Regions from separate parts of the Homo sapiens genome. Here regions 1, 2 and 3 are each linked to region 4. The links are contacts of gene promoters, found by promoter capture Hi-C in blood cells and fetal thymus (Javierre and others, 2016). All regions are on one chromosome and are shown on one strand. The core of a region is centred on a gene start or on the middle of the fragment in contact, and the rest is flanking DNA. Distances in the headings are between cores, read along the strand shown.

Region 1 (2,700 bases), core at 26-2,525, 180 kb before region 4:
TTATCTATCTGGTGTGTTTATCTGTATCTAGTATGATGTGAATATGTGATTTGTATGTGTGTCTACCACTGTTTTGGTCAGTTTGTATTTCTCGTGGGTACAGTTCTATGTGCTCATGTATGTGGAACATATGTATACTGACACATGGACCTAGCTCCAAATGATCTGAAAGGAATATAATTGTAATTGAATATTTGCACAGATATACAACATACACATGTGATGGCTGGGGGAAATGCATGTGGGATTTCAGTCAGCATTTTATTAGAGAAGGTATGTCATTAGTGCTGTATTAACAATGAATCAGCTTATTTGTGGGTCACTGTCAATGACTCCTTTGCAAATCACACATGTAAATATTTCTGTCTGTGGTCTGATGAACATGCAGTGCCACAGTCTGGGAGATGCTGAGCCATGCCCTGTGTAGGCAGCATATGAAAAGAACTGCATGATTTAAAAGATGCTGACCAGCTTAAGGAAAGCAATTTAAAAACTTCCTAAAAATCTAGTTTGAATGAACAACAGTTTTCATTTTGTGTGTGTGTTTTTTCTTTTAGAGATGGGGTCTTGCTATGTTGGCCACGCTGGTCTCTAACTCCTGGGATCAAGCAATCCTCCTGCGGCTCAGCCTCCCAAAGTGATGGGATTACAGGTGTGAGCCACCGTGTCTGCTGGCCCCACTGTTTTAAACCCTGATTCGACAATCATACATTTAACTCATTACCTGTCTTGTTCCTTTTACGACAAACTCAAAGCTTTTATTTTACTAAAGTATTTGGGTTAATCTTTTGCTTTTCTGTCATGTTCTGAAATATGTACAATAACAGAATCGCTCAAAATATTATCTCCGTTAAATGTTTTGTGGCTTTAGGGAGAGGTCTAACAACATGCGGGAAACAAGAAATCAAGCGCATCCAGGATTCATTTATAATCTCTCTCGTTGAGTAGAAGTCCGCATCTCTCGATATTGTCTGGTTACCTGCATGAAGTATTCTAAAGGAGGAAAATAGCTCAAAGAGGACATTCATGTGCACTCTGGCTTCCAGTTGGCCATTTGAGTAAGTGATCGCAATTAACTGACGAGCGGCAGGGAAACACTTCCTGGAATTCTCATCTACAGACAAGAACAAACTGGGGCGGGGCCCATCACCTTCACCTACGCGCCGGGAGGGTGGCGGCTGGCGGGCGGGGCCGGGCTCGGGCCGTGACGCCGAGAGTGCGGGGCGCGCGGCTGGGAGCCTCGCGCCCCCGCCCGGGCCCGCCCCCATCCCGCCCGCATACAGCCCGCATCCCGCCGGGGAAGCGAGCCCAGTCCAGCGCTGCCCGTCCAGTCCTCGCCCAAGATTTAAAGCCCGCAAGTTTTGTTCTTGAGACCAGCGACTTTAGCTCCGATGCGGGAAGGAAAGCCGACCTCCGATTTGGACATTTAAAGAGCTGGGCTTGAACTTCGTGAGTTTCGCTCTAAACTGCCCTTGAAATGAAGCTGGACTTGGAGGTAAAGTCACTGGGAAGCTGGCCTGGGGCGGGGTTTCCCCCTCTTCTCGTATTTTAGAAACGGACAGCGGCAGTGCAGCCCTAGTTTGCTGTAAGTTTCCTTACTTTGTTACTGAGGCCCCCAGAGCTCCACGCATAAGTGGTGTGACCAGAAACCTTTTAACAAGACCCGCCTGAGCCTGCGTTAGAGCTCCCGCTCGGAAAGTAAAAGACCATCCTAATCCGCGGCGCTGCGGAACCGGTGTCCCGTGTGGGAGGAACCGCGGCGTTCCCTGGGCGTAGGGCCCGCGAGGCCAGCACAGTCCGCCTCTTGGCGGAGCGCCCTGGGCCGGTGGTTCCGCGCGGAGTTAGTCTGTGGTCAGTTACGTGGTGAAAACACGGCTGTGCCGCGGCCGCATCTTTCCGCGGCCGAGGCCTCTCTGGGTGGGAGTGTTGGCTTCCTTTCCGGATCGCTAAATGGGGAAAGTTCTGGCCGCTCGGCGGGATACGTCTCCAGGCCACGGATGGTTCGTTCTCCGTGCCGCGGCCCCGAGCTGGGCTCCCTGGGTCTCCAGCGCGGGCTCCCGGCATTGGGGGCTGCGGGCCGGCCCCTCCGCCCCGCCCCCGCCCCGCCGCGCCTCCTCGGCCGAGCGGCTCGCGGTCTCCGGCGCGGGAGGCTCCGAGTCTGCCCACTCCGGGCCGAGCGAGGTCTCTGGAGGAGAAGAGTGGCGAGGAGGTGAGGGCACGCCGGCCCTCGCCCGGCGGGTGGCGCCAGGACTTCAGGTGGGAACGCGCGCTTGGGCCGGGGGCGCGTGGCTGGCGTGGACACCGGATCGGGGCCCGCCGCCCTGGCCCGGACCGCGCACGGCCCAGCGCCGGGAAGTCGGGAAGCCGGGGAGGCCTCTCCCACCGCGGGCCCCGGCAGCCCGCCCTCTGAAAGCGCGGCGGAGAAGGAGGCTCGTCCCCTCCCCGGAACGCCTTTGTTCCCTCCGGCCTGCCCGCGCGGGTGGCCAGCGGCTGGGACCCAGGCCGGGCCGCCGCCCAGGTGCGGCAGGTAGGCTCGGGGGCCGGGCAGCTCCGGTTGGGGCGGCTTCCCGGGGCCTGCGGGTCCCCGTCCCTGAGGAGCTCCGGCTCCTCGGTGGCGGGACAGGCCCGTGCGCGGGAGCCGCGAGGCGAACGCCGCGCCCACCAATTCGGTTGCCGGCCGGGGGCCCCAGGCTTGCGGCC
Region 2 (2,700 bases), core at 16-2,515, 180 kb after region 4:
GCGCGTGCCTGTAGTCCCAGCTACTCCGGAGGCTGAGGCAGGAGAACTGCTTGAATCCAGGAGGCAGAGGTTGCAGTGAGCCAAGATGGCGCCACTGCACTCCAGCCTGGGTGACAGAACAAGACTCCATCTCAAAAAAAAAGAATTCAAGAAGATGGATGCCCTATGACAGAGGTCCCCGTCGAGGGAGCTGAAATCTCACTGCCTGTTGCAGAGTTCACTCTGCCAGGAAATTCATATAACTTTGCCCCACCAAACAGTGGCTCTCACTCCTTACCATGCCATCATGGTCTTCTCTAGCCTTCCTCTTGCCTTAATGGTTTTCTAGGTAGGAAGCAAACATTGGCCTCTGTGTTTAGTATAACTAACTCCAACACCACACCATTCAACCACAACACCTCCCCAACCCCATAAACTCCAAAGTCTGCATGTCAGGCTTCCCAAGAACTCTCTTAGCTTTCAGCCCTGGCTCCATGGAAACACAGGGGCTGTGATTCCTTCTCAGCCCATCACTTGAGCACATCTCCTACCCTGCTCCTAGGCAAGCAATCTGTTATCTGTAAGATTGCTTGCTTAGAACTCCTAGACTTCTATGCTTCTTGCACCCTTAGAACTCCTAGGCTTCTATGCTTCTTGCACCCTTAGAACTCCTAGGCTTCTATGAGGCTGAAGGTGGATGACAGAGGCTGACAGTCACAGGACCAGTTCTGCCATTTTTTAGACAACCTTGAGGGGATATCTAAAATCATTCTTTAGAAATAAAGAGGAATTCTTATCAGCTTTGAGAATTTAACCAAAATTATGAGACATCAGGAAAATCCCATTCCATATTGTTTTACATTAACAATTAAGAACCAATTAAGTTCTATTTCTTGACCTGGTCACTGGTTACTTGGGTGTGTTCTGTTTTGGAAAAATGTATGGAGCTATGTGCTTATGCTCTGTTTATTTCTCTTTATTAGGTTATACTTCCATAAAAAGCTTACTTACAGGAAATTATCCAGGATTCTCCCCCAACCCTGTGTGCTGGATTCTGTGCCAGCTATTTTACATCTCTTATCTCATGTAATCAGGCTGGCTACATTTATTGAGCATCTACTATATGCCAGCAGTATGTTATATTCTTTGTTTTCTTTTGATTTTTATTGTGATGTATAACATACACATAAAAAATTCAGTTTAACAAATAGTTATAAAGTGAACATACATGTAACCACCACCCAGATCAAAAAATATATTGCCAGCACCCCAGAAGCCCCTTATGTATCTCTTCATAATCATAATCCCCTGCAATACTCTTCATATGCATTATTTAATTTAATCCTCACAAAAATCCTGGGAAGTTATTACCAGTAGCTGCAAGCTGAAAAATTCCCAGAGTTCACCCAGACCTAGGAGACATTTGAGTTCTGATCAGCCAGAAAGAAGAAACTGTATTAAGCACCTGGGGCATTCAGTAAAGACCCCAGAAGCACCACACCTTGCTTGTAGGACTACCCTAGTCCCAGAGTAAAGGATACTCTAGACCTACAATAACAAAACTTAAAAACAAGCTTCAGACAGATCAAACTGATTTTCTAATAAATTGTCTGCCAGAATAAAGTCTAACATATTTAAAAGGAAAAAAGCAAAATTGAGCACTCAACAAATGTTGAAATGTCCAGCATCCAATCAAAAATCACCAGAGTAGGCAAGAATGGTTGTGTGCACCTGTTCCCAGCTACTTAGGAGGCTGAAGCTGGAAGGTTGCTTGAGCTGGGAGTTCTAATCTAGCCTAGACAACATAGCAAGACCCTGTCCTAAAATACAATTACAAGACATACAAAGAAGTTTTTTTTTTAATTTTAAGAAGTGATCCATGACTAGAAGAAAAATCAAATTCAGAAATGACAGAGGTAATGAAATTAGCAAAAAAAACAAAAAAAAAAAAAAACAAAAAAAAACCCAAAAGCAAAAACAACTATTGTAGCTATGTTCAAGTATTTAAAAGAAAAATGAATGTAATGCAGAGAGAAATGGGAGATATAGATAAGCGCCAAATGGAAATCCCAGAGATGAAAATATAATGTTTGAAATACAAAATTTGGCCGGCTGCGGTCGCTCATGCCTGTAATCCCAGCACTTTGGGAGGCCGAGGCGGGCAGATCACGAGGTCAGGAGAGCGACACCATCCTGGCTAACACGGTGAAACCCCGTCTCTACTAAAAATACAAAAAGTTAGCCGGGCCTGGTGGCAGGCGCCTGTAGTCCCAGCTACTCGGGAGGCTGAGGCAGGAGAATGGCGTGAACCCGGGAGGCAGAGCTTGCAGTGAGCCGAGATCGTGCCACTGCACTCCAACCTGGGCGACAGAGCAAGACTCCGTCTCAAAAAAAAAAATTACTGAAAGGGTTAAACAACAATTTAGGCAGTACAGAAGAAAAGATCAGTGAACTTGGAGGCATAGAAATAGAAACTATCCAGAGAGAAAAGCACAGAAAGAAAAAAGATTGAAAAAACTGATCAGAGTTTCAGTGACCTGTAGGGCAATATAAAGTGGTATAATGGGATTACAAGATGCAGAAGTGGGGGAGTGACAGAAATAATATTAAACAAAAATATTGCTCAAATTTTCCAAATGTAATAGAAACTATAAACCTGTAGCTTCAAGAATCCCAACAAACCTTCACGCAAGATAAATACACACACACACACACACACAC
Region 3 (2,864 bases), core at 235-2,734, 160 kb after region 4:
AGACTATGTCAGGAATTCGATCAATCCTACACTTCCCCAACCCTAGGAAACTGAGGGAAGCCCCTCCCACCAGGTTCCAGGCTCAGCCTTCCAGCTGCGCACCCTGTGCAGCTACTTTAAGCCCTCACACCCACCTCCAGAGTCACACCAGCCCCACAGGGAAGGAAACCCCCTCACAGATTTGCTATCCACAGCCTTCATTTGAAACAGCCTCTTTGGCCATTCCTCACACTTTCTTTCATTCTGTTTACGCTGCTTGTTTTGGGGGGTGATTTTGGCTCTCCACCCTGGCCACATGGCCTCAGGCTGCTTCAAGCAAACAGCCCTCCCCCATCTGACCTGACTGTGATCCTTGTACCCTGGCTCCACTCCTGTAAGTAGAACTATCTCCAGTCCTGAGAGTGGCATCAGGCCACCTACCATCAGTCCCAGGCCCAGGGGCACTCCTTCCTGAGTCCCTTGTCCCACCTTCTTAACACCATGGAAGCACCTTCCCAGCATTACTGTACCCATAAGGCTGCTGAAAGAAGAGGCCTCAGCCTTGGAGACCGAGAGCTGACTGATGCCATAGGGCTGACCCCAGTCGCTCCCTGCCCTGAAGCCTTTGCTGGGGTATTTTTCTGGCATATTAATGCAGTTTGTAATGTCCCAGCTGTGGCTCTGAGAAGAGGCGGAATGAATGGTGTTTTTGGTTTGCTGCCAGACGAGGGTGATCCGCATCCAAGGACACGTTCCTTATGTGATAAACACTGCTCCTCTGGCCATCTCTGGCAATAGTGAGCTCAAATAGCAGAAAACTCGTCTGTGAATGGCAAGGATTGCTGAAAAGTAACTCTCTGCCACTCCAAGGGGATATGCTATCAGGGAAAATACCCCTCTGCAAAGACATGCAGAATCTATGTTCCAGCCCCTTGGAGGCCTGCTCTCAGGAAGCCAGCTGGAAGCCAGGCCCAGACTGGGGCTGCACCAGAGAAGGAGGCAGCAGCTGTTACCAGATAATTAAAGTTAGGCCAAGTACAGATGAGTTCAGGAGGCTGATGTGAGAGTCAGGGTCAGGCAGGACATGAATCAGCTCAGGCCTGTAAAAAACCATTAGCTGTCAACAAAGGACAGGAACAGCCTATCTAAGCACTGTTCAAAGGTAAGAAAACTCTTAACTGTAGGGACATAACGAGTCTTCCTTCACAGAGCACCAACACCAGATCCTCTCTCTCACTCCCAATTGGCTTCGACTGGAGTCTGTTTTGGAGATACTGAGGAATCCCTGTGTCTCTTGTTATCAGATAATTTAACTAACAGGAAGCTCTTTTTCCTAGCTTGTGACATGATGAATGGATCAATGGGTGACTTCGTGAATAAGAGAGGGAAGTAGAAACAGGTGTACTCTATGGATAGAACCAATAGCAAAGATTTTGTTTAAGGACAGTTGGACTTATCAAACTGTCTCTAGAACCATACTGACAGTGAGTTTCAGGAATGCCCCAGTGAAGCTAGGGGTACAATCTTCATAGACTTCATGGACCAAGGGCAACAGTCATAACAACAGCAATCAGTTAGAGAGTTGAGAGTTAAACAGTTAGAGAGTTGCTGCTATGGTCAAGAATTGTGTTACATGCTGTATTAGGATTCTTGCTGCTGAGTAAAAAAACCCAGCTCAAATGGACACATTGGATATCAACCTTTACCAAAATTCATTTGAAAATAAACTTTTTGTTTTAAAATATTTGGTTTCTCTACAAGGCTCAAATCCTCTAAGGTTTATAGAGATAGGAGGAGAAAGGTAAGACAGACTTTGCATTTTATCATGCCTATAAAGTGTTTTAGCATGCTGAGTTGTAAGCCAAAAATCTACCACCATAACGATCATACCACTATTTGTTGGGTCCTTTCCATGTATCAAACCACTGAACCCAAACAACTTTGCAAAGGGTAATTTTGTCATAGACGAAGATTACGGTTCAGAGAGGTTAAGCAAATTTCCCAAGATCATTAAGCCATACGTGACAGAGATGGAATTTGAGCCCAGGTGTCTCTGACCCCCAAAGCCCATGTGTTTTCCACCATAGCGTGTTGGTCAAATAGTCATTGGCGTCTATTGCTATTTGCAGTTTGAATTTGGTTGTGAGGAGGGGATGGGGGTTATAAACACACAATGGGGCCAGGTGCGGTGGCTCACGCCCGTAATCCCAGCACTTTGGGAGGCTGAGGCAGGCAGATCACGAGGTCAGGAGATCGAGACCATCCTGGCTAACATGGAGAAACACTGTCTCTACGAAAAATACAAAAAAATTAGCTGGGCATGGTGGCGGGCACCTGTAGTCCCAGCTACTCAGGAGGCTGAGGCAGGAGAATGATGTGAACCTGGGGGGGCGGAGCTTGCAGTGAGCTGAGATCGTGCCACTGCACTCCAGCCTGGGCAACAGAGCGAGACTCCATCTCAAATAAATAAATAAAAATAAAAAATTAATAAATACACAATGATATCCCCAAATTTCTCATTGTTTCTATGGCTCACAGAACCTCACCCAAGACACCGTGGATCTTCTATTAGTTGGGTGTGCACGAGACATTTTTCAGCCTTAGGAGGTCTTGAGGGCTCCAGTGTAGGTACATGCTCTGATTGCAAGGAGGGAGGTGTCCACCTGTGCCCTCTGCATGGAAGGGATTGTCACTCTGTATGGCCATCAAAGGGTGGAATGCTTAAAGTATTGCCCTTCTTGCCATTCTAGCAGGATTTTCTTGGAGAGGGGCTGCCCAAGCCTTGAGAAGTTTTCTTATCTTTCATCTTCTAACTCAAAAGAAAACGAAATGAATTTCTGTTAACATCTAGTGTCCCCTGGCCCTGAACATTCTCCTATCCTTCT
Region 4 (2,700 bases), core at 105-2,604:
CTTATTTCAGGAGCAAGCAATGCATGTTTTGCTCCTCTTTTCAACTCAGGGAAGAAGATTAAAATTGCTCAGTCTCCTTGGCTTGCAGAGATTTCTCGCGGGGATCATCAGGGGTGTGCTTAACCCTCCAGGCAGCACAGTAAAACAGGCCTAGCGGCCGAGCTGCGCAGGGGCGCTCCCATGTAACCTGCCTCTCCCTGCACTTTCTTATAAACAAGCCTTCAGTGGCGTGGCAATCATTTCTGCTGAAAAGCACTGGCATTCGTTCCTCTTATGCCCTCTCCTTTCTCACTATCCCCAAAACCAGAACATAACTTCCCACCCACCCTACTCCCGTCAGAAGCAGCTAACGGATGGTAACAGCCCAGCAGCCCTCGGTTTGGAGCTCAACGGACTCGGCAACCACCTGGTGAAGGCACCAGCCTCGGCCCCCCGACCCCCACCAGCGGCGCGCCCCAGGGATGCCCCCCGCTGGGCACCGCAGGCAGGACCCAGAGCAGCGAGGCCCAGATGCCGGGCAACCCCCCAGGAAGCGCGCTGCCCCGGGGCAGCGGGTGAGGCCAGGAGCCAGATGAAGCCCAGAGACCATCCTCACCCGCCATTAATAAAACGCAGGAAAAATTAAAGCTTCGTTTACCGACATGAGTGATCACTGTGGCCAGTCGCCGGGTGAGCTCCTGGGGAGGCATCTCTTCTTTTAAGCAAGACAGCATTTCACTGAAAAACCATTCCGTATAAATAAAGCCAAACAAAACTGTTTCTACCGCTGCGGTGGATGATTTTTTAAAGGCATCTCCGCCCAAGGATGCTCTGCCCTCGCCCTCTTCCTGGCTCTCCAGGCAAGAAACGAGAGTCCCTCGCAGCCTAGGCCAGCTCTCCCTCGCCACGCCCCGCGGGGGCTCCCGTGACAGACCAAGTCTGGCGCTTTCCCAGCGTCGCAGCTGGACCGAGAGAGGAGCGGCCGTTCTGCAAAAGGAAGCAAGTCGCCAATCTCGCCGGAACCGCGCCCCGGCTCCTCCGGCCGGGCGAGCTCCGGGGCTTCCAGAATCGCGGTCCCGGCCGCCAGGTTTCCGGCGCCGCCTCCAGGGACTGTAGAGTGAGGGATGCTCCGCCAGGTGCAGGGGAGGCGGCAGGTGGCCGTGGCTTCTCTGCGCCGCCGGCCCCACGCCCCAGCGCCCACCTCGTCCAGCCCACGGGTGGCGCCCGGGGCTCTCGGGGAGGCACGCACGCTCCCAAGCGCCGCTCGTTTTGGGGTCGGGAACGCTGCGCACCTTTCCCTGCGGGGAGCCCGCGCTCCACCCCCGGAGTGGAGCTCCGGTCCTTACTCGGAACCGTGGGGCGGGGAGACAGTGACTGAGGCGCTCCAGTCGCACCGGGGTCCGGATCATCAGACGCGCGCCGGCCAGGTCTCCGCCCCTCCTTCTTCCGCGCCGGGTGTCTGCGGAGGAGCCGCGGAGAGAAGGGGGCTGGCCCGGAGAGCTGCCGCCATCCGGCAGGACCCGGAGCGGGAGGCTGGGTGAGGCGCCGCTGCTTGCCCCACCTCCTGACCCCGGGGGCGGCTGGCGTGTGTTTTCCCCCACTTGGGGTTGTTCCACGCAGTTCTTGACCTCCGCTGGCCACACCTGCACTGGGAGCCCGGCGCCCGGGCTGCGCTCCGACAAGGCTGAGCACGCGTGGGCGCGCTCACCCCCTATGTGGGCGTTTTCCTTCGTGCAGCTGCGCCCTTGCCTCTGCTCCGTCTGTCACCTGTCAGGCACGCCAGTGCTACCTTCTGGAGGGGCTGTGGCACATCCTCCATGCTGGTCCTCCTCCCCATCAGCCCATTATCCCGTGGTTTCCCTAGTTGGGCCCAGACACTTTCTGACTGGCAGCAAAAGACTAACCCCAGTTCAGCAGAGCGCTACGGGAAACGCCTGAGCAAATGCGAATTCGGTCAGGTTGTCCCCCAATCCTTTCTACAGCGGGAGTCCCTGAATACTCAGCAGGCGGAATGGCGGGACCACCCAGGCGGATGTTCTCAGCCATCTCTTTCCTCTTCGATATGTAAAAAGCCAAGCCGCAAACACCCTGGATCCAAATTCTAGGAGTAGCCACCCATCACAGGGGGCTGAGGGTATTTTTTTAATGCTTTCTCTTTTCTTCTTTTTTTTGGAGACTGAGTCTGGCTCTGTCGCCCAGGCTGGAGTGCAATGGCGCGATCTCAGCTCACTGCAAGCTCCGCCTCCCGGGTTCACGCCATTCTCCTGCCTCAGCCTCCCGAGTAGCTGGGACTACAGGCGCCCGCCACCACGCCCGGCTAATTTTTTGTATTTTTTAGTAGAGATGGGGTTTGTTTCACCGTGTTAGCCAAGGATGGTCTCGATCTCCTGACCTCGTGATCCGCCCACCTTGGCCTCCCAAAGTGCTGGGATTACAGGCGTGAGCCACCGCGCCCAGCCCTTTTTAATGCTTTCTCTAACAATTGTGGGCTGTGATTGAGAAGCGAGGTCAGTTCACCTGTGTCATGAGATTTGTGGAGAGGTTCTTCCCCCTGTGAAGTTTGGGCACTTTGCACTCTGCCTGCAAAACAGAGCAAGGATTTTCTTTTTCTTTTCTTTCTTTTTTTTTTTTTTCGTTTTTAGAGATGGAGTTTCACCATATTGCCCAGGCTGGTCTCAAACACATGGACTCAAGTGATCATGCCCGGCCACTGAGCAACCA

What was found. Contacts are between HindIII fragments. The CHiCAGO score rates a contact against its expected background, and 5 or more counts as called.
Region 1: the fragment with the promoter of B3GNT5 here is called in contact with the fragment with the promoter of MCF2L2 in region 4 in 2 of 17 cell types (M1 macrophages and endothelial precursors); the score reaches 5.4 in M1 macrophages.
Region 2: a contact is called between a fragment that was not itself captured here and the fragment with the promoter of MCF2L2 in region 4, in 1 of 17 cell types (M1 macrophages). The highest score is 5.6, in M1 macrophages.
Region 3: a fragment that was not itself captured here is called in contact with the fragment with the promoter of MCF2L2 in region 4 in 1 of 17 cell types (M2 macrophages); the score reaches 5.5 in M2 macrophages.

The regions. Positions count from the first base shown.
Region 1 is chr3:183,251,978-183,254,677 of GRCh38, forward strand. It overlaps B3GNT5 (UDP-GlcNAc:betaGal beta-1,3-N-acetylglucosaminyltransferase 5), which reads left to right and starts at 1,276. Exons shown (of 2, transcript NM_032047.5): 1 at 1,276-1,495. All of the region lies in intron 15 of MCF2L2 (MCF.2 cell line derived transforming sequence-like 2), which reads right to left. LOC124906310 (a long non-coding RNA gene) reads left to right here. Exons shown (of 3, transcript XR_007096189.1): 3 at 558-578. The HindIII fragment of the contact is 12,746 bases long and covers 754-2,700 here.
Region 2 is chr3:183,603,656-183,606,355 of GRCh38, forward strand. No RefSeq gene overlaps it. Among named protein-coding and RNA genes, the nearest start is that of KLHL24, 31 kb to the right of the region's middle. The HindIII fragment of the contact is 572 bases long and covers 980-1,551 here.
Region 3 is chr3:183,583,748-183,586,611 of GRCh38, forward strand. No RefSeq gene overlaps it. Among named protein-coding and RNA genes, the nearest start is that of KLHL6, 29 kb to the left of the region's middle. The HindIII fragment of the contact is 4,302 bases long and covers 1-2,864 here.
Region 4 is chr3:183,427,265-183,429,964 of GRCh38, forward strand. MCF2L2 (MCF.2 cell line derived transforming sequence-like 2) reads right to left here and starts at 1,355. Exons shown (of 30, transcript NM_015078.4): 1 at 638-1,355. The coding sequence starts at 713. RefSeq lists a silencer at 1,105-1,184. The HindIII fragment of the contact is 2,747 bases long and covers 626-2,700 here.